7 separate regions of the Homo sapiens genome follow, and regions 1, 2, 4, 5, 6 and 7 are each linked to region 3. Evidence: promoter capture Hi-C in 16 types of primary human blood cells and fetal thymus (Javierre and others, 2016). All regions are on one chromosome and are shown on one strand. Each heading gives the region's core, a stretch centred on a gene start or on the middle of the fragment in contact. The rest is flanking DNA. Distances are from core to core; before and after follow the strand shown. Region 1 overlaps RB1CC1 (RB1 inducible coiled-coil 1). Region 2 overlaps RB1CC1 (RB1 inducible coiled-coil 1). Region 3 holds the start of MRPL15 (mitochondrial ribosomal protein L15). Region 4 overlaps TMEM68 (transmembrane protein 68). Region 5 overlaps RB1CC1 (RB1 inducible coiled-coil 1). Region 6 overlaps RB1CC1 (RB1 inducible coiled-coil 1). Region 7 overlaps LYN (LYN proto-oncogene, Src family tyrosine kinase).

The links. The method cuts DNA at HindIII sites, captures the fragments that hold promoters and counts their contacts. A CHiCAGO score of 5 or more calls a contact.
Region 1: a fragment that was not itself captured here is called in contact with the fragment with the promoter of MRPL15 in region 3 in 1 of 17 cell types (non-activated CD4 T cells); the score reaches 6.6 in non-activated CD4 T cells.
Region 2: a fragment that was not itself captured here is called in contact with the fragment with the promoter of MRPL15 in region 3 in 1 of 17 cell types (naive CD8 T cells); the score reaches 8.9 in naive CD8 T cells.
Region 4: a fragment that was not itself captured here is called in contact with the fragment with the promoter of MRPL15 in region 3 in 1 of 17 cell types (total CD4 T cells); the score reaches 5.9 in total CD4 T cells.
Region 5: a fragment that was not itself captured here is called in contact with the fragment with the promoter of MRPL15 in region 3 in 1 of 17 cell types (non-activated CD4 T cells); the score reaches 5.5 in non-activated CD4 T cells.
Region 6: a contact is called between a fragment that was not itself captured here and the fragment with the promoter of MRPL15 in region 3, in 5 of 17 cell types (naive CD8 T cells, non-activated CD4 T cells, total CD8 T cells and 2 more). The highest score is 8.1, in naive CD8 T cells.
Region 7: a fragment that was not itself captured here is called in contact with the fragment with the promoter of MRPL15 in region 3 in 1 of 17 cell types (M2 macrophages); the score reaches 5.1 in M2 macrophages.

What each region holds. Positions count from the first base shown.
Region 1 is chr8:52,680,835-52,683,534 of GRCh38, reverse strand. The region is part of intron 5 of RB1CC1 (RB1 inducible coiled-coil 1); the gene reads left to right. Among named protein-coding and RNA genes, the nearest start is that of RB1CC1, 32 kb to the left of the region's middle. The HindIII fragment of the contact is 3,785 bases long and covers 1-2,700 here.
Region 2 is chr8:52,656,993-52,659,692 of GRCh38, reverse strand. RB1CC1 (RB1 inducible coiled-coil 1) reads left to right here. Exons shown (of 24, transcript NM_014781.5): 13 at 717-820; 14 at 1,569-1,695; 15 at 1,785-2,700. Among named protein-coding and RNA genes, the nearest start is that of RB1CC1, 56 kb to the left of the region's middle. The HindIII fragment of the contact is 4,310 bases long and covers 1-2,700 here.
Region 3 is chr8:54,133,820-54,136,519 of GRCh38, reverse strand. MRPL15 (mitochondrial ribosomal protein L15) reads right to left here and starts at 1,279. Exons shown (of 5, transcript NM_014175.4): 1 at 1,129-1,279; 2 at 1-9. The coding sequence starts at 1,236. The HindIII fragment of the contact is 13,913 bases long and covers 1-2,700 here.
Region 4 is chr8:55,767,316-55,770,015 of GRCh38, reverse strand. All of the region lies in intron 1 of TMEM68 (transmembrane protein 68), which reads left to right. Among named protein-coding and RNA genes, the nearest start is that of TMEM68, 4.7 kb to the left of the region's middle. The HindIII fragment of the contact is 6,579 bases long and covers 1-2,700 here.
Region 5 is chr8:52,640,255-52,642,954 of GRCh38, reverse strand. It overlaps RB1CC1 (RB1 inducible coiled-coil 1), which reads left to right. Exons shown (of 24, transcript NM_014781.5): 17 at 143-251; 18 at 364-604. Among named protein-coding and RNA genes, the nearest start is that of RB1CC1, 73 kb to the left of the region's middle. The HindIII fragment of the contact is 2,017 bases long and covers 422-2,438 here.
Region 6 is chr8:52,702,521-52,705,220 of GRCh38, reverse strand. The region is part of intron 1 of RB1CC1 (RB1 inducible coiled-coil 1); the gene reads left to right. Among named protein-coding and RNA genes, the nearest start is that of RB1CC1, 11 kb to the left of the region's middle. The HindIII fragment of the contact is 8,152 bases long and covers 1-2,700 here.
Region 7 is chr8:56,007,098-56,009,809 of GRCh38, reverse strand. All of the region lies in intron 12 of LYN (LYN proto-oncogene, Src family tyrosine kinase), which reads right to left. Among named protein-coding and RNA genes, the nearest start is that of SNORD54, 65 kb to the left of the region's middle. The HindIII fragment of the contact is 2,684 bases long and covers 22-2,705 here.

The sequences.
Region 1 (2,700 bases), core at 25-2,524, 1.5 Mb after region 3:
ATTATTTTAACTGATTGTTTCTAAAAGCATTCGGATCTAAATAGCACAGTAGTCTAAATTGCATAGGAAGTATGCAAAAAGTTTGACAAATAAACTTTAAAAATATTTTCCGGTTAATATATCTAGTTTTAAAATTTCTGGGTCATACATTGCTAGTTATTCTACTTTGATAATGACAGTATTTTAGAGTGGAAAAGCTGTCTTAACATGATTTGGTCACCTTCTTTCCTAGATAATATGTAAATAGTTACTTTTGAACATTAATTAATAAAGGACCTACGTTAGAGTAGATGTTAACAAAGAGAACTTAAATAGCTCTAAAAATGTATTTATTTTTTCCATATTTGTGGTTAGTTCCTGGAGGAGAATTAGGTTTCTTTCTAATATATAGCTCTTAACACTGCTACTTGCAGTTCCCACGGATTGTTTCCCAGTCATTTGATTTTCCTTTTTAATTTACTATTTACCTTCTAGTAATATCATTGACATTAAGCTATCAGTGGTAAGCTACATTTTTCTTTTAATCATGGAAAAAATGTGTTAGAACCAATGAAATAATAGTATTTACCTTTTGTAAAAATAAATAACATTACTGAACATTAGCTTTAATTAGTAAAACTCTTAGAGATTTGTTTTAAGCAGTATATACATTTGTACAAATACCCCCATTTTTCACATAGGATACAACATTAAAAGGAAATAACCTCATCTGTGTGAAACATATTTAATAAACATTTGAGAGTCCAAAAGTGCTTTGAGAGGACAAAATTTTAAAAAATATACTTATGTAAACTGAATTTACATAATAGAATCTTTTAGAGTTGTTTTTTTGATTTGGTTGAAAAGTGTACATACTACATTTTGATAGAGAAAGTATTAAATATGAAAATAAGTTAAAGGATAACTAGGATATATAATTTTCAAGTGATTAGAAAGAGCAATTAAAACTATATTCAACGAAAGAATGAAAACAAGAAAGTAAAAAGAAAAGATAAAATGTCAGAAATACGTATATCAGGAATTAAATATAAGCTGGCATTATTTCTCTTTTAATGCATCATATTTAAAATATTTTTTAAATACATAAATAGTAATCTGAGATTCAGATACCAAGCATTCTATATCAGTCTGTTTTCATGCTGCTGATAAAGACATAACCCGAGCCTGGGACGAAAAAGAGGTTTAATTGGACTTAACAGTTCCTCGTGGCTGAAGAGGCCTCGGAATTATGGCAGGAGGCGAAAGGTGAAATTGGCCAAAACAAAGGGGTTACAGGTCCCATGCAAGTTCGAAATCCAGCATGGCAGCCAAGTTTTGAAGCTCCAAAATCATCTCCTTTGACTCCAGGTCTCACATCTAGGTCTCACTAATACAAGAGGTGGGTTCCCATGGACTTGGGGCAGCTCTGTCCCTGTGGCTTTGCAGGGTGCAGCCTCCCTCCCGGCTGCTTTCACAGGCTGGCGTTGTGTCTGTGGCTTTTCCAGGTGCACAGTGCAAGCTGTTGGTGGGTCTTCCATTCTGGGGTCTGGAGGACCGTGACCCTCTTCTCAGAGCTCCACTAGGGAGTGCCCCCAGTAGGGACTCTGTGTGGGGGCTCCGACCCCACATTTTCCTTCTACACTGCCCTAACAGGTTCTCCATGAGGGCCCTGCCCCTGCAGCAAACTTACCTGGGCATCTAGGCGTTTCCGTACATCTTCTGAAATCTAGGCGGTGGTTCCCCAACGTCAACTTGTCATTTACATTAGGTATTTTATTGACTTATTATATAGAGACAGGATCTCACTGCGTTGCCGAGGTTGGTCTCAAACTCCTGGGCTCAAATGATCCTCCTGTCTTGGCCTCCCTAAGTGCTGGGATTATAGGCGTGAATCAGCATACCTGGCCTCTTTTCAGATTTATAAAATACATTGAGCCACCATGCCTGCCCTCTTTTCAGATTTATAAAACAAATTCTAAAGCTGCTATAACCAAAACAGTAACATAGGTCTAATCAATTCATTATGTGAGGAATTAGAGGTGATATTTCTTCATGGTCCGGGATGTGGTCTCTAAAGTCAGATTTTCTGAGTTTATGTCTGATTACTTCATTTACCTGTGGTGTGACCTTTTACTCATTTACCTTATTGGTAAATTTAAGAATAGATTTTTGTTTATTGAGATATACTGAAAAATGCACAAACCATAATTGTACATCCATTCTTAGTGAATTTTCACAATGAACACATTGATAAAAATAGTTTCAGGTGTGGTAGCTTATGCCTGTAATCCCAGCACTTTGGGAGGCCAAGGCAGGCGGATCATGAGGTCAGGAGTTTGAGACCAGCCTGACTAATATGGTGAAACCCTGTCTCTACTTAAAAAAAAAATGCAAAAATTAGCCGGGCATGCTGGCATGTGCCTGTAGTCCCAGCTGCTCGGGAGGCTGAGGTAGGAGAATTGCTTGAACCCAGGAGGCAGAGGTTGCAGTGAGCCAAGATCGCACCACTGCACTCCAGCCTGTGTGACAGAGTGAGACTTCATCTCAAAAAAAAAAAAAAACACACACACACACACACACACACACAAAACCCCACAAAAACAAATAGTTTCAACCCAGAAGCCCTACTTAGGACTTTCTCCCCATCAGTTTTCATCCTCCCTGTTCATTAATGCTAACCAGTATCTTGACTTCTAAACCAACATTACTTGGTCTCTTTTT
Region 2 (2,700 bases), core at 161-2,660, 1.5 Mb after region 3:
CTATACTGCAGGATTTCTTAGTGTTTTAAATGTATGCATTTTTTAATACATAAGAATTGGTGACATAGCGATTCCCATACTTATTTATCCGAGAACTCTTTTTTATGAAGAGCATCTTGGCATCTCCACATCTGCTTGAGTAATGATTTAAAACAAGTTTTTTTTTAATGCAACTCTTGGCAATTTTATAAATAATGAATTGGTAGGATTTACCGGTTAATATTTTTTACAGAAGCTAAAATTGACCAAAACTTTGTCTTCTGGAAAATGTAATGGAAAAGTCAAGGCAAAAGCAAATAAGAAAGTGTTACATGGAAAAAAAATACATGTGTGCATTTTAATATATTAGTGGCTTTAACATGGTAAATATTATATATATACGCACACACTTACATATGTGTTTACCATATGTATATGTACATACATACACATACAGGATAGGAATATTGTAATTCCCATAAAATGATGCTAAAAGCAGAGAAGGGGAGGAACAAGTGCATCCCTTGATCACTAGCAGTTCACGTCGCAGTTTACTAAAGGCTCAGGAAAATAATATGCCATATCTTTATTGAATGGTCTTTTTTTGTTTCTTAATCATTTAAAGCACTTTAGTTTGTTTGGTATAGTAAATTTAATTATAGTAAGAAATCATATAAATTTGCTGTCTGTTTTTGGTTGAAAAAAAATTTTTTAAGTAATTAATTTTTTTGGTACAGACTCAAAAGCCTCGAAAGTTTGACTGTGAACTTCCAGATATTTCATTAAAAGATTTACAGTTTCTGCAATCATTTTGTCCTTCGGAAGTTCAGCCATTCCTCAGGTAAATGTCATTAGTATTTTCAGTTAATTTATAACCTTAAAATGTTTTTATTATTCTGGAGTTGTGCCAGGTAGTACCAGTAATCTTAAGAGGTGCCAAGATAAGAAATATTTAAGATAGACTGGCTTTCCTGTGACTGCTTTGAGAAATTTCTGGGGAATAAAAAATGATGGAAAATGAAGGTAAAGTAAAGGAAGACATGCCTTACATGTAATTATTTTTTTCTAGTAGTTACTTTTTGCATGCTGTTGGGAAATTTCTGACTTTTTACTTTTTTTTTTTTTTTTTTTTTTCTTGAGACGGAGTCTCGCTCTCTCGCCCAGGCTGGAGTGCAATGGTGTGATACTGGCTCACTGCAACCTTCACCTCCCATGTTCCAGCAGTTCTCCTGCCTCAGCCTCCTGAGTAGCTGGGATTACAGGAGCCCACCACCATGCCCTGCTAATTTTTGTATTTTTAGTAGAGATGTGGTTTCACCATGTTGGCCAGGCTGGTCTCGAACTCCTGACCTCATGATCCACCCGCCTAGGCCTCCCAAAGTGCTTGGATTATAGGTGTGATCCACCACGCCCGGCCCTAAGTTTTTACTTTACTGATTATGACACAAACTTCTTAAAATACTTCTGGTATTAATTTAAAAAGGAATGATAAGGCTCTTGTTATTTTTGACATATTAAAATATTTGGTAGCAGTTATCTACTAGTTCATTAAAAAATCAGAAGTCTAATTGCATTGCATTCTGTTTCAGGGTTCCCTTACTTTGTGACTTTGAACCTCTACACCAGCATGTACTTGCTCTACATAATTTGGTAAAAGCAGCACAAAGTTTGGATGAAATGTCACAGACCATTACAGATCTACTGAGTGAACAAAAGGCAAATTCAATTCTTTCAAACAGTTTTCTTCATTAGTGTAAAATGTTTGTGTTCCTGCAGCTCTTTAAGCCTTTCTTTCTGTTTTCCAGGCATCTGTGAGTCAGACATCCCCACAGTCTGCTTCTTCACCAAGGATGGAAAGTACAGCAGGAATTACAACTACTACCTCACCGAGAACTCCTCCACCACTGACTGTTCAGGATCCCTTATGTCCTGCAGTTTGTCCCTTAGAAGAATTATCTCCAGATAGTATTGATGCACATACGTTTGATTTTGAAACTATTCCCCATCCAAACATAGAACAGACTATTCACCAAGTTTCTTTAGACTTGGATTCATTAGCAGAAAGTCCTGAATCAGATTTTATGTCTGCTGTGAATGAGTTTGTAATAGAAGAAAATTTGTCGTCTCCTAATCCTATAAGTGATCCACAAAGCCCAGAAATGATGGTGGAATCACTTTATTCATCAGTTATCAATGCGATAGACAGTAGACGAATGCAGGATACAAATGTATGTGGTAAGGAGGATTTTGGAGATCATACTTCTCTGAATGTCCAGTTGGAAAGATGTAGAGTTGTTGCCCAAGACTCTCACTTCAGTATACAAACCATTAAGGAAGACCTTTGCCACTTTAGAACATTTGTACAAAAAGAACAGTGTGACTTCTCAAATTCATTAAAATGTACAGCAGTAGAAATAAGAAACATTATTGAAAAAGTAAAATGTTCTCTGGAAATAACACTAAAAGAAAAACATCAAAAAGAACTACTGTCTTTAAAAAATGAATATGAAGGTAAACTTGACGGACTAATAAAGGAAACTGAAGAGAATGAAAACAAAATTAAAAAATTGAAGGGAGAGTTAGTATGCCTTGAGGAGGTTTTACAAAATAAAGATAATGAATTTGCTTTGGTTAAACATGAAAAAGAAGCTGTAATCTGCCTGCAGAATGAAAAGGATCAGAAGTTGTTAGAGATGGAAAATATAATGCACTCTCAAAATT
Region 3 (2,700 bases), core at 30-2,529:
TCTTCTCTCCTGCAAGGAAAAAAAAGAATTTTATGAATTTCAGATGCATTTCTAAAAACTGCATTTCAGCTCTTCACTTTTTGTTATGCTGTTCATTCATCCAGCCCACCAGTGCTAGCTAACACTATTGTGTCAAGCATGTCCTAGTTGCTCAAAGCTCCACACACTCTGTTAGCATCTTTGCCTCTAAAGACATAGCTAATTCTTGTAACCAAAGTCCAAGTGTGTTTCAAAAGCAAAAAGTAAAGGTTAGGATGGGGATAAGGTTTTTATAATAGGTTGAAACCGAAAAAAATCCTAGAATTAAATATTCACAACATTTTAAATGATAGGCAAGAATTTATTCTGAAATTAATTGTAAATATGCAAATGTTATTCATAAACCTGTAATTTTATTTGAAAACTGATCTGTTGAAGAAAATCTTTTCCTTAATTTCCTGTCATTTCACGAAAGCAATGAACTGACTGTTAAAATGACAGTACATTGTCAACTAACAGCTTTTCTAGCTCTATTTAGTCAACTGCAGAAGGGACAGCTGCAATTCAGATCTTTCCAATGAACATAAAGATACACCGGGAAAACATTTCATTTTAAATCCAATTTTGAATGACACAAAGACTTTGTAGTTTCAGCGAGTCGGCTTCTCCGCCTGGTATCTTTACACTTGTAAACATAACCTTATTAAGAACTGGGTGCGGCCGGGGGCGGTGGCTCACGCCTGTAATCCCAGCACTTTGGGAGGCCGAGGCAGGCGGATCGCGAGCTCAGGAGTTCAAAACCAGCCTGGCCAACACGGTGAAACCACGTCTCTACTAAAAATACAAAAATTAGCCGGGCGTGATGGCGGGCGCCTGTAATCCCAGCTAATCGGGAGGCTGAGGCAGGAGAATTGCTTCTGGGCGACAGAGCAAGCCTCCGTCTCGGAAAAAAAAAAAAAAAAAAAAAAAAGAACTGGGTGCACGTGGAAAGATTCCCCTCTGGGCAGTAAGGGAGAACAGGCATGAGGCAATCCTATTTTCATCCCAACACTCTCCTAGAAAGGGCAGTTCTCCTAATGACAGGGAGAGAAGGGCCGCTTTCATCGCCCGGGTCCCCAGCGCTTCCCCGCACCGCCACCACCCATTTACCGGTTTCTTGGAGCCGGGATTCGGCTTTAAGTTGGCCAGGCTCACACGCGGCAGGCCCCGGAGTAGGTCCAGGGCCCGGGCCCCACCGCCCTGCAAGGGACCGGCCATAACCCGCAGATCCAAGAACTTTCAAGGGCGCCCTGAGCTGCTCGGAGGCCACGTGGTCTCGGGGGCTGCTTTGTGGCCGTGGCCCCGCCCCTGTCGCGCTGCAGCCGCGCGCGCAAGCCCGGGAGTCGGGCAGAGGCGTGGGAGTCTGCAACCTTGTCTCGGTTGTCCTTTTAGTTGTTTGGGGATGTGATCTTATTTTCCGAGATCCTGCTTTGTCCTCGGGGTCCCTTTTAATATTCTGAACGTAAAACCTTCTCTTTCGCCAAACGAGAGCATGCACTAAAAACACTGCGTTAAATAAAGGATCTTTTTTGAGTCAGTGTTGGGCCTTGCCTGTTTGTCTAGGCCGTGTCTTCTCTGAGGTCAATGCAGAACCCAGAGTAAAGCAAAGTGAGCTGTCAATTATTAGCTTTTGAGCTTGCGTAATTATACACCGTGAGGTACGAAAATAAAACTGAGTGCACCTATCAAAATGCCTGGCTAATAACCAATCTTTGAATAAGACTCAAAGTGTGAACTCTCATCCGTGTGCATCTGTATTGTTTTGAGTGAATCGCAGTTAGTAACCACCTATTGTTAATGACTGGCGCCATACTGAATGCCTGGTGTATGCCAGACGCTGTATTAAATAAGCCTTACTCGATTTACAGCCATTCTAGAGGTAAATGGTGTTACTACATTTTACAGTTACAACAGGGAAGGCTTAGCAAGGTCCGATAGCTTGACCAACTTCTTGCAACAAGCGGCAGAGCCAGGATTCAAACGTACACTGCTTCCTACTATAAAAGTAGTATTTTTAGAATGTAAAATTGAGTATCTGCATCACAAAATACGAACATTATTACTCGAAAAATACCAGCTCTTCTTTTTTCTCTCAAGTGACTTAAATATAGAAAAGACTGTTCCTTTCTTTTTCTTTCTTTTAGTAGTGGTTTGACATTTCACTTGCTGGGGAGTTTTTTCTGCTAGCTCTAACTAGTAATCACAAATAATGAAGGTGAGACAATTTTTGGAGGGCGTCTGTCTCTAGGTATAACTGCGTCTTTTTAAAGTTCCTTTAAATCAAGTGTAAAATAACTACATAAAGAAAAAGTTGTATTCATTCCTTCAAGTACTATTTATAAGTAAGACACTGAACTTGTTGGAAATACACATGGATGAACTCAAATAGGATTTCATTCCCAAGTTGTTTGAAATCTAGTAGGGAACAGTTTCCAAAAGTGAATTATTATTATTATTATTTTGAGACAGAGTCTCGCTCTGTTGCTTAGGCTAGAGTGCAATGGTTCAATCTCAGCTCACTGCAACCTCTGCCTCTCTGGTTCAAGCAATTCTTCCGCCTCCGCCTCCTGAGTAGCTGGGATTACAGGCGTTCACCAGCACGCCCCGCTAATTTTTTTTTGTATGTTTAGTAGAGACGGGTTTTCGCCATGTTGGCCAGGCTGGTCTCCAACTCCTGGCCTC
Region 4 (2,700 bases), core at 131-2,630, 1.6 Mb before region 3:
TTATTCAAATTCCTCTGATAGTTCTCTAGTAGCAGGTTTTAGGATACTGTTTTGATCCAGATTTCTGTTAAAGATTTAGATGAGGCCAAGCAGGGTGGCTCACGCCTGCAATCCGAGCACTTTGGAAGGTGGAGGCGGGCGGATCACTTGAGGCCAGGAGTTCCAGACAAGCCTGGCCAACATGGCAAAACCCCATCTCTACTAAAAATACAAAAATTAGCTGGGTGCAGTGGTGCTTGCCTGTAGTCCCAGCTACACGGGAGGCTGAGGTATGAGAACTGCTTGAGCCTGGGAGGTGGAGGTTGCAGTGAGCTGAAATCGAGCCACTGCAGTCCAGCCTGGGTGACAGAGTGAGACTCTGTCTCAAAAAAAAAAAGTTTTAGACGAACACAGTTCAGTTGTATATTTAGCCAGCATTTGTTAGGTGCCTACTATGTGCCAGAAAGTAAGTGTTTTTCGTATGTTTTCTTAGATAACTATTTTATTTACTGATATATTTAGAATAGTATCTGGCACAAACTTCTCAGGGCCATCCACTTGTACATTGTATCCTGTCCCCTTTGGCCTAGTCAAGGACAGAGCTCTAACAATTATCTCCTCTCCTACATCATCTGTTTCTCACTCCCATTGATGAATTATCGTTGACATTGAACATGGGTGTATTTTCTCCTATCTTTTTTTTTTTTTTTTTTTGAGATGGGATTCTCATTCTGTCCCTGAGGCTGGAGTGCACTGTCAGAATCTCGGCTTATATAACCTCTGCCTCCCGGGTTCAAGCAATTCTAGTGCCTCAGCCTCCCAAGTAGCTGAGACTACAGGTATGCACCATGATGCCTGGCTAATTTTTGTGTTTTTAGTAGAGACGGCATTACCATGTTGGCCAGGCTGGTCTCAAACTCCTGACCTGAAGTGATCCACCCGCCTTGGCCTCCCAAAGTGCTGGGATTACAGGCATGAACCACTGTGCCTGGCCCTTTTTTTTTTTTTTTTTTTTTTTAAAGACAGAGTCTCTTGCTCTTTCACTGAGGCTGGAGTGCAGTGGCTTGATCATTACTCACTGCAGCTTCTACCTCCCAGGCTCAAGTGATCCTCCCCCTTCAGCCTCCCAAGTGGCTGGGATCATTGGTACATGTCACCATGCCCGGCTAATTTTTAATTTTTTTTTCTTTTTGAGCAGAGTCTCACTCTGTTGTCCAGGCTGGAGTGCAGTGGCATGATCTCGGCTCACTGCACTCTCCACCTCCTGGGTTCAAGCCATTCTTGTGCATCAGCCTCCCGAGTAGCTGAGATTACAGGAATGCATCACCACACCTGGCTAATTTTTGCATTTTTAGTAGAGATGGGGTTTCACTGTGTTGCCCAGGCTGGTCTTGAACTCCTGGCCTCAAGTGATCTGCCCCTACTTGGCCTCCCAAAGTGTTGGGATTACAGGTGTGAGCCACCGCACCTGGCCTAAATTTTTTTTTTAGAGATGAGTTTTTACTATATTGCCTGGCTGGTCTTGAACTTCTGGTTTCAAGCGATCCTCTTGCCTCAGTCTCCCAAAGTGCTGAGATTACAGGTGTGAGTTACCATGCCTGGCCTCTGTCTTAAAGCAACAGCTGCAGCAGCAGCAGCAAGGAACAACTCACCTGTGTTCCCTTCTAGATACCCACCTGTTTCTTTCCTCCTTTGTGAGTTTTTATATTTGCTGTTTCCAATTCATTTTCTCCCATTCATTCTTGAACTTCAAGGGTAAAGGGGAGCTGCTTCTGTCCTCTCCTGTCCAAAGTGTTTTGTTTCCTACTATACAAAAACAGCTCTTACCAGGGTTTGCCAGTTTCCTTTGTGTTGTAAAATCCAGTGATCAATTATCATTTTTTTTTTTTTTTTAAAGCTGTCTCCTACAGGAAGGAAGTGATCTCTTACCTTACTAGGCCTGTCAACAGCATTTAAAACAGCAGAATATGCCTTCCTTCTTGAAGCTCTTACTTCCAGGATACTGCTTCTGCAAGGAGGAGGCTGGCTTGCCATTGTCTTCCCAACTTCTAAAATGTTGGGTGCCTCAAGACTCAGTCCTGGAAATTCTTTTTTTTTTTTGAGACTGAGTTTCGCTGTTGTTGCCCAGGCTGGAGTGCAGTGGCATGATCTCGGCTCACTGCACCTCCGCCTCCCAGGTCCAAGCGATTCTCCTGCCTCAGCCTCCCAAGTAGTTGGGACTATAGGCGTGCGACACCACGCCCGGCTAATTTTGTATTTTTGGTAGAGACGGGGTTTCTCCATGTTGGTCAGGCTGGTCTCGAACTCCTAACCTCAGGTGATCCTCCCGCCTCGGCCTCCCAAAGTGCTGGGTTTACAGGTGTGAGCCACTGTGCCTGGCCAGAAATTCTTTTTTACTCTATATTCGTTCCCTGGAGGGATCTTCTCTAGTTCCATGGTTTTAAATATTGTCTATATGCTACCAATTCCTAGATTTATATCAGGGCCATCCACTTATACCCTGTATCCTCCTCCTGATCTTCCTGCTAAACTGCTGATGTCCGGCTGCCTACTTAATGTCTTCACTTGGATGTCCAATAGACATCTTAAACTTAACATGTTTAAAATGGAATTCCTGATCTCCATCCCACCCTCAAACCTGTTCTTCCTGCAACTCTTATTTTTTCACAAGCAAGCGAATAATAATGATGATAGCAATAGTTAATGCTTATATGTGATAAG
Region 5 (2,700 bases), core at 181-2,680, 1.5 Mb after region 3:
ATTTTTAAAACATTTCATGAATCATACCCCATCATCTCCATGTACAAATGTGCCACAGAAAAGAATATTTGCAAGTGTATTTTCTAAGTCCTAGCTGCTAAGTACATGTAGATAAATTTAAATAATTATTCTCTTGTTCCAGACCAATTTTAACACTGTTTTAACAAGAGAGAAAATGAGAAAAGAAAACATAATAAATGATCTTAGTGATAAGTTGAAAAGTACAATGCAGCAACAAGAACGGGATAAAGGTTTGTACTGTTTTGTACTATTTTTTTTAATTTTTTAAAGTGGAAAAGATACATTCATGCAAAGTGGTTTTTTTAATTACATGATACTTTTTTAAATTTGGGTGTCCTTCAGATTTGATAGAGTCACTTTCTGAAGATCGAGCTCGTTTGCTTGAGGAAAAGAAAAAGCTTGAAGAAGAAGTCAGTAAGTTGCGTAGTAGCAGTTTTGTTCCTTCACCATATGTAGCTACAGCCCCAGAACTTTATGGAGCTTGTGCACCTGAACTCCCAGGTGAATCAGATAGATCCGCTGTGGAAACAGCAGATGAAGGAAGAGTGGATTCAGCAATGGAGACAAGCATGATGTCTGTACAGTAAGTATGGCTGTTTTCAACTGTTTTTAAGGCTGTTGCAATTCCATGAGTTATAAAGCTCTGAAGAGAGGAAATATTTTTAGCATTACTGGTTGTCCACAGCCCATGTATCTGAAAGTTGTGCTATTTTAATTCTTTAAACTGTAAGTGTGAGAAAACATTACTGAATGAATTATTTTGGGGTACTCTCATACTATACAAAGTATGTGCACCAGAATTATCCCATACTGCCAAGATAAGGATCATGGCAGTAGTATTGAGCCATTCTTATTTACAGGGAATGTTGACATTTTGGGGTCCATTACCTATAAAGGGGTTATTGTAGTAATGAATATATTCATTTTGGTGAGGAAAAGCAGGGAAGGGTTTTTTATTATTATTATTATTATTTGTTTATTCATATATAGCAAATGTTTACTGCATTACATTGAAATCGTGGCAGAGCTTACTGGAATTTAGAACTTTCTTACCAGTTCTCCTTTGAATATAGTGAAAGACCACTAAAATTGTGCTTACAATTATATCTATGGGAGAGACAGAATTGGGAGGAGAAAGTGCTCCTCTCCAAAGGACGTTGCAAGTAGAGTTTGCATTTCTAGTTGCACCTCTGGGATTTCAGATATGGGAACTGAGATTCCAAGGGCAGAAAGTCCAGATCATTATGCCACACAAAGAATTATGCCCAGTGGGTCAGTGAACACTACACCCCCATGTGAGATGAAGTAATTCGAACAAGTGATTACCAAAAGATATCATAGAATCAGCGTGGTCCCCTCGTTCAAACAGATCCAGGTTCAAGTCCTGAGTCTAGCACCTGCTTGGGAACTTGAGCAAGTCATCATCCCTTATTTTTCCATCAAGATAACAGTTATGATAACAAGACAACAGTTATGATACACCAGCAGGGTTGCTTTGGGCATTAATATTTTATTTTATTTTATTTTAATTTTTTTTTTTTTTTTTTTTGAGATGAAGTCTCACTCTTATCCCCCAGGGTGGAGTGTGATGGCACAATCTCGGCTCACTGCAACCTCCGCCTCCTGGGTTCAAGTGATTCTTCTGCCTTAGCCTCCTGAATAGCCGGGATTACAGGCGCCTGCCACCACGCCTGGCTAATTTTTGTATTTTTAGTAGAGACGGGGTTTCACCATGTTGGACAGGCTGGTCTCGAACTCCTGACCTCAGGTGATCCACTCACCTCAGCCTCCCAAAGTGCTGGGATTACAGGTGTGAGTCATCGCGCCCGGCCAGGCATTAAATTTAATGAGCACCCGTGAGAAGGTGTGGTACACAGTAAGAAACCAGTAAGTGCAGGGTCCTTCGTACCCCACCCCTGCCCACTCAGAGGAACGCAGTTAGTTGCATCTTCATATAAGCCCATTATCTGCCTGACCTTTGAGAAACTTTGGTAGGGGAGTTTTTTGTTTGTTTGTTTTTGAAAAATAAAATTACTTAGGTTTCTGTCTGGTTGAAAGGAAAATAATAGAAACTGGTTACCTTTAGACTTTGAAAGGTATAAGGCTTAAGAATGTATATTAAAAATAAAATAGAACAAAAAAAGTAATTCAAAAAAGCAAATCAAGAAAACATGGTTAAGCAAATCAAGAAAACATGGTTATTTAGCAAACATGAATGACATAAATATGTCCGGACATGTGTGAAAAAAGTGAACCACCGTATGAAAACCTCTTTAAAAAAATATATCCAACTTCATTCTACATATAGGAGAGGTACCTAGAGCCAAATGATACAGAAAGTTTACTATAATATGATTCAGAAAGATATAGAAGGGAAAAATATAAAAGCAATTCAAAGCAAAAGGCTTTAAAAAGCTTTAGGAATTTAAGGCTTTTTTGATTGACACATAAATTATACATATTTATGGTTTACAGTGTGATGTAGTTACATGTGTACATTCAAATTAGAGTAATCCATCACCTCAAACGTTTATCATTTCTTTATGGTGAGAACATTCAAAATGCTCTTTTCTAGCTATTTTGAGATAGCGCAGTACATTATTGAACACCAAAACTTATTCCTCCTATCTGGCTGTAGCTTTGTACCCGTTGACCAACCTCTCCTCATCTCCTCTCCTC
Region 6 (2,700 bases), core at 18-2,517, 1.4 Mb after region 3:
AATTTGGATCTGTTCAGTTTCATGCATTATGTTTATTAATGCATCATGATTCCTACTAACTTGTTAACTACCGTGTGAGTTATGAGTATGTTTGACATGTTTTGACAGTTGTTCTGTCCTACGAAGTCTCAGTATATATGGTAGGCAGTTTATAGTAATTCTTAGTGGGTAGAAACTAAAGACTGTTTAAGCAGAGGGTCAAATAATTTAAGAAAATCTTGTGTCAGTTGTTGAGTTACTAACCTGTTACTTTTAATTTAGAATTGGCTTGTGTTAACTTGTATAGTATTAAATATGGTTTCATTTTATAAAAGTTAAGAAGGACTTTATATAAAATGAGCATCAAGTCAGATTTTAGGAAATCGTGACTATTTGGTGAAAAGTAATACTTATGTACTAGGCTTATTTATATAAGGCTTATAAAGTTACTTTATAATTCCTTGAATAGCAGTTGATTTCTGTGCTTGTACCTTACTTAACAATTACATGCAATAACTTTAGTTCTAGATCATAGAGAGTCAACCCACTTACAGGATTTAATGGACTTTACGTAAATTAGGGGTACATGTACATAATAAGCATTCCCAAAGTTGCAAGTTAATAAAAGAATTAGCTCCTTTTAATGATTGTTTTCTTAAAAGAAATCATTGGTTTATTAAGTTTATCCTCTTAAGTTTTAGTAATGTGATCAGTGAGGGTAAACTGTCAGTTTCTAGTTGGAACTTGATTTTACATATACTTTTGTGTTTTTTTTTTTTTTTTTTTAATGTCACCTTTGTGTGAATTCTTGTCCATTCTTTCTCAGTCTAACTTTTGCATACCTCTCTTCATATTAGTATTATTGAACTTTTTGGAAGGCAGGTAATGTGCTTTTTATTACTTTTTGGCACTAACACACAATAAGTTTCTTAAAATTAGTATTTGTTCAGTGTGTTAGACTCATGTTTAATGTATGATTTGACTATTTATAGAAGATCAGAAGAATAATCTAGTGTACCCCTTTATGTTTTAAGATGACGAAACTGAGATTCAGAGAAATTGGATAACTCCTGAAATCACAGGAGTAAAGATGTGAAGCTAGGACTAAAAACCAGATCTCTTATTTCTTTCCAAGTATTTTTTATTTCAGGGTGACCAAATATGTACTTGGTTACTGATGTCCCTTTTTGCTGAATGTTTTTTAACAATTGTGGCATACAAAGGAGAGAATTCAGTTTCATGGGATCATGTTATTTTGATAGCATATAGGAGTATGTAACATAAAGTATACAGTCTTGTGAATAAATAGCGACAGTGTTCCTGTGGATTCTCTCTGAGCAACTTTCTGATTTCAGTTTTGGTTGCCGTAGTCCTTATCCATGGTTTTGACCGCAAACATTTATTGACTGTTTACTGTCTCTAGGTAGTATGTTAGGTATTGAGGTATGATATGTCATGACCAAAATTTTTTTTAGCCATTTGCAATACAGCTTGGGCGATGTAAGTTATTTGGCAAGTGGCAAAAAAGTGTAGCAGGGCATTTATTTATGTTCTGAATACCAACACTTACTTGAATAGTTGGAATTTGAAGTATGGGCTGTCAGTACTTCAGGAACAAGACCACTGACAGCCAGTACATTGAGGAAGACTTTACGACAGAATATTTGTGAATTCTTGGTTACATAATGGAAGCTGTGGAATGACATGAGTAGAGGCATGAAAATCCATTTATTCATGCACCTCATTTCAGGAGATCAGCCTAAATGGTATGGAGCTTCATGTAGGGACCCAAATAAAGGAAATAGTGGAGTGTCAGTCTAAGGAATTTATACTTGAGTAGAAGTTATGAAGCATTTTTAGTTTGGGGAGAAGTAAACATTAAAAGAATCTAAGATTATGTAGTTGGTGGTGTCATCTGAGATGGAATCTGCAGATAGTAGGTGCTCAGATAGGTAATTGTTAGAGCCCGATATGCAGTAGGAAGATCTGAATTAGATAGCTTAATGGGAATAAGGTGGAAGAGAGGATACACATACTTAGTAACTGTTTATGTGGAACCAAGGAGTACTTATTCATATATGATGTTAAAATATATTAAACCAAGTTGATTACTTTTTTTTTTTTAATATAAGATACTGGGAACACATTGGCTGATAAAGAAACTGCTGAAAATTAGCTACCTGCATGTGATCTCTCTCTGTTACTAAGTTACTATTTGGATTCTGCTTTGTCATTTGCTTAGAGTACTGCTACTAGAACCCCAAGAGTACATTTGCTTATGAAACCCTGTTTATTCAACAGATGCTTTTGAGTGCTTTGTGTTATGTCACAGAGTTACTTCCTGTCCCTAGAGAACATTTTGGGAATATTTACTGTGATTTCTTTTTTTTTTCTGCAACAGCCATATGAGGTAGGTATGATAAATATCCCCATTTACAGATTAGAGAATGGAAATTTAGACAGACATGTATTGATGAAGAAAGTTGTTTTCTTGTTTTATCTACATTTTTTTCTTCTTCTTTTCTTTTTTTTTGAGTCTCACTCTGCCAACCAGCTGGAATGCAGTGGCATGCTCTCGGCTCACTGCAACCTCCACCTGCCGGGTGCGAGTGATCCTCCTGCCTCAGCCTCCTGAGTAGCTGGGATTACAGGCGAGAGCCAGCATGCCCAGCTAACTTTTGTATTTTCAGTAGAGATGGGGTTTCACCATGTTGGCCAGGC
Region 7 (2,712 bases), core at 114-2,613, 1.9 Mb before region 3:
TAACCATGATTGAAACAAGCTTTACTGAGGCTGTTAGGGGTTGAACAGCATCCTCCCAAAATTCCTAGGTTGAAGTCCTAACCCCGCGTACACCTCAGAATTGACAGCACCATATTTAGAGATAAGGCCTTTATAGAGGTAACTAAGTTAAAATGAGGCCATTTGGGTAGGTCTTAATCCAATATGACTAGTATCCTTATAAGAGGAGATTAGAACACAGACTAGTATAGGGGAAAGACCATGTGAAGACACAGGGAGGAGGCAGCCATCTACAAGTCCAGGAGAGAGGCCTCAGGAGAAATCAACCTGGCTAGCACCTTGACCTTGGACTTTGAAACTCCAGAACCCCGGAAAAATAAACGTCTGTTGTTTAAATTACCCAGTGTGTTGTATTGTTATGGCAGCCCTTGCCAACTAATATAGAAGCTAAGGAAATTTCTGCAAGCAACTCAATAAATAAATTTAGCATGGAGGGGATCAAGACAGCATTCAGTTTGCCAAAATTTGTTAAGTAGGAGCCACAGCCAAGTTCTCTTTAATAACAAAAGGATATTGGACTTGCCTCACATTTCAAATAAATCACCCAAATCTAATCCTAACTCTCAACTTTAATTATGTTTGCAGGGTAGCATGCTTTCAGCTTCAACTTGTAGTATATTTATGAAAAAAATAATTTTACCACATATTATCTTATACGGACATTTTTCAAAAATTGGCTTTTCATTTAATAATTGGTATTTTCATTTACTTAAAGTCAGCACCCTTAAGTCAGCCCAACAAATTGGTTACATGCTTGCCAAATAGTTAAAAACTTAGGGATTAATTTGGAAAATAATGATGGTTCAGTTAATCTGAAGGACACTTGTCTGTAGTTTGTGCTACATATCTTGTGGATGTCACTGTCTTTTAAGAGCAAGATATTAATTGAGGAGGAAAACTGAACCCCAATCATAGTCTCAAGTGGAGCTACTTCACAGACGCAGTTAACTGTTCCAATCTGCAGTACCTGGCCAGAGTGACAGCTCACTCTGACTCTGGATTTGCATATTCCTGACCTCCAGGAGAGAAGTAAGGTGCTCATTACTCCTCTAGAGCTCTGCAAAAGGCCTGGTAATAGAGAATGTTTTTAATGTGGTCAAATGTCTCAGGGTAATTCAGAAGCTGAACTGTCAATCTTTGATCCTGAGAATAGCTTTAAAGGGTAAAAAAGATCATTATAATAATAACATTTTCCTGCATGATAAAGGAGATTAATCCTTCAATTATGTGCTCATCTAGCAGTATCTATCCACACCTGTATGTTTTGCATATTTCATGGATACCCTGTTCTGTAGGATGTGAACTTCTCTAGAGAAGAATGTATGTCATGCAAAGTATATACAATATCTGGCATATGAGAGGGGCTCCATTCCTCACAACGAATTTCCTTTCCATAGCTATCTCTTTTTCAAAGCTGTAGATTATACCATCACTGGTCACTGGAAGGATTCTAAATAAGTGGCAGCTTCAGGGGAAATGGCTTTTTACCAGATTTGAAACAGAACCTTCTTTTGAATGTATTTTCTAATCAGTGTTTTTCAAATTGCGGGGCACTATCCGCATTTGGGATCAACAATTTGGGATCAACAAATTGACTTTTTTAGAGTACTACCAGTATTTTATTTTATTTTATTTTATTTTATTTTTTTTTTGAGGCAGAGTCTCCCTCTTTCACCTAGGCTGGAGTGCAGTGGAGCGATCTTGGCTCACTGCAACCTCCGCCTCCCAGGTTCAAGCGATTCTCCTGCCTCAGCCTCCCAAGTAGCTGGGATTACAGGTGCCCACTACCATGCCCGGCTAATTTTTGTATTTTTAGTAGAGACGGGGTTTCACCATGTTGGCCAGGCTGGTCTCAAACTCCTGACCTGAAGTCGTCTGCCTGTCTCGGCCTCCCAAAGTGCTGGATTAAAAGCGGGAGCCACTGCATCCAGCCAATTACCAGTATTTTTTAAAATGAATTATAACAGAATAAAACAGAAAAGGTCAGAAAGCACTGCACATAGGAAAGGTCAATATGGTTTTATGAAACGTTTGCTTTATGTACAGAGTAGGTTTCTATGTATTTCCCACAATGGCTTATGGCCAATAAACTTTGAGATCCTCTGCCTTTAACTTACCTTTTTTCATCTAAGGACACAGTGACCTTTCCTGAATTTAAACCGCTGAAAGAAGACATGATCATTTCTGTCGTGGAAGAGCCCTTGTTTTTGAAATTGAAAGATCTAAGCAAACTTTATAATGATTCAGATCTCTTGAGAATTTATACAGCAAATCCATTTTCCTGAGTCTAATTCTGAAACACTATCTTCAAATATTTGTGTGACTAGAATTTTCTAACTAAAATACTTCATTTGATTTTCATTGCTTAAAGCGAAAGACAGATTTGTATCATCCTCTTTATTTGGGAGTTTTAGTCTCCACAAAATGATATGGCCTCAGCATTGCTCTGGCTCTTATAACTTGGATAAATTTCAGAAGAAAGATTTGTGTATACTTCTGCTTTCTTGGGTGAAATTCTGGGATCGTGGTGGGAGGACTAACATCCAGTATGATATAAATAGCAATTGGACCTGCACACTCAGTTTGGAATATCTCTTTCACTTCCTTCCTGGAGATCCCTCATTTGCATAAAAGGTCAGAATGCAGCCACAGTGGAAGATAAAGCTTTCTAGG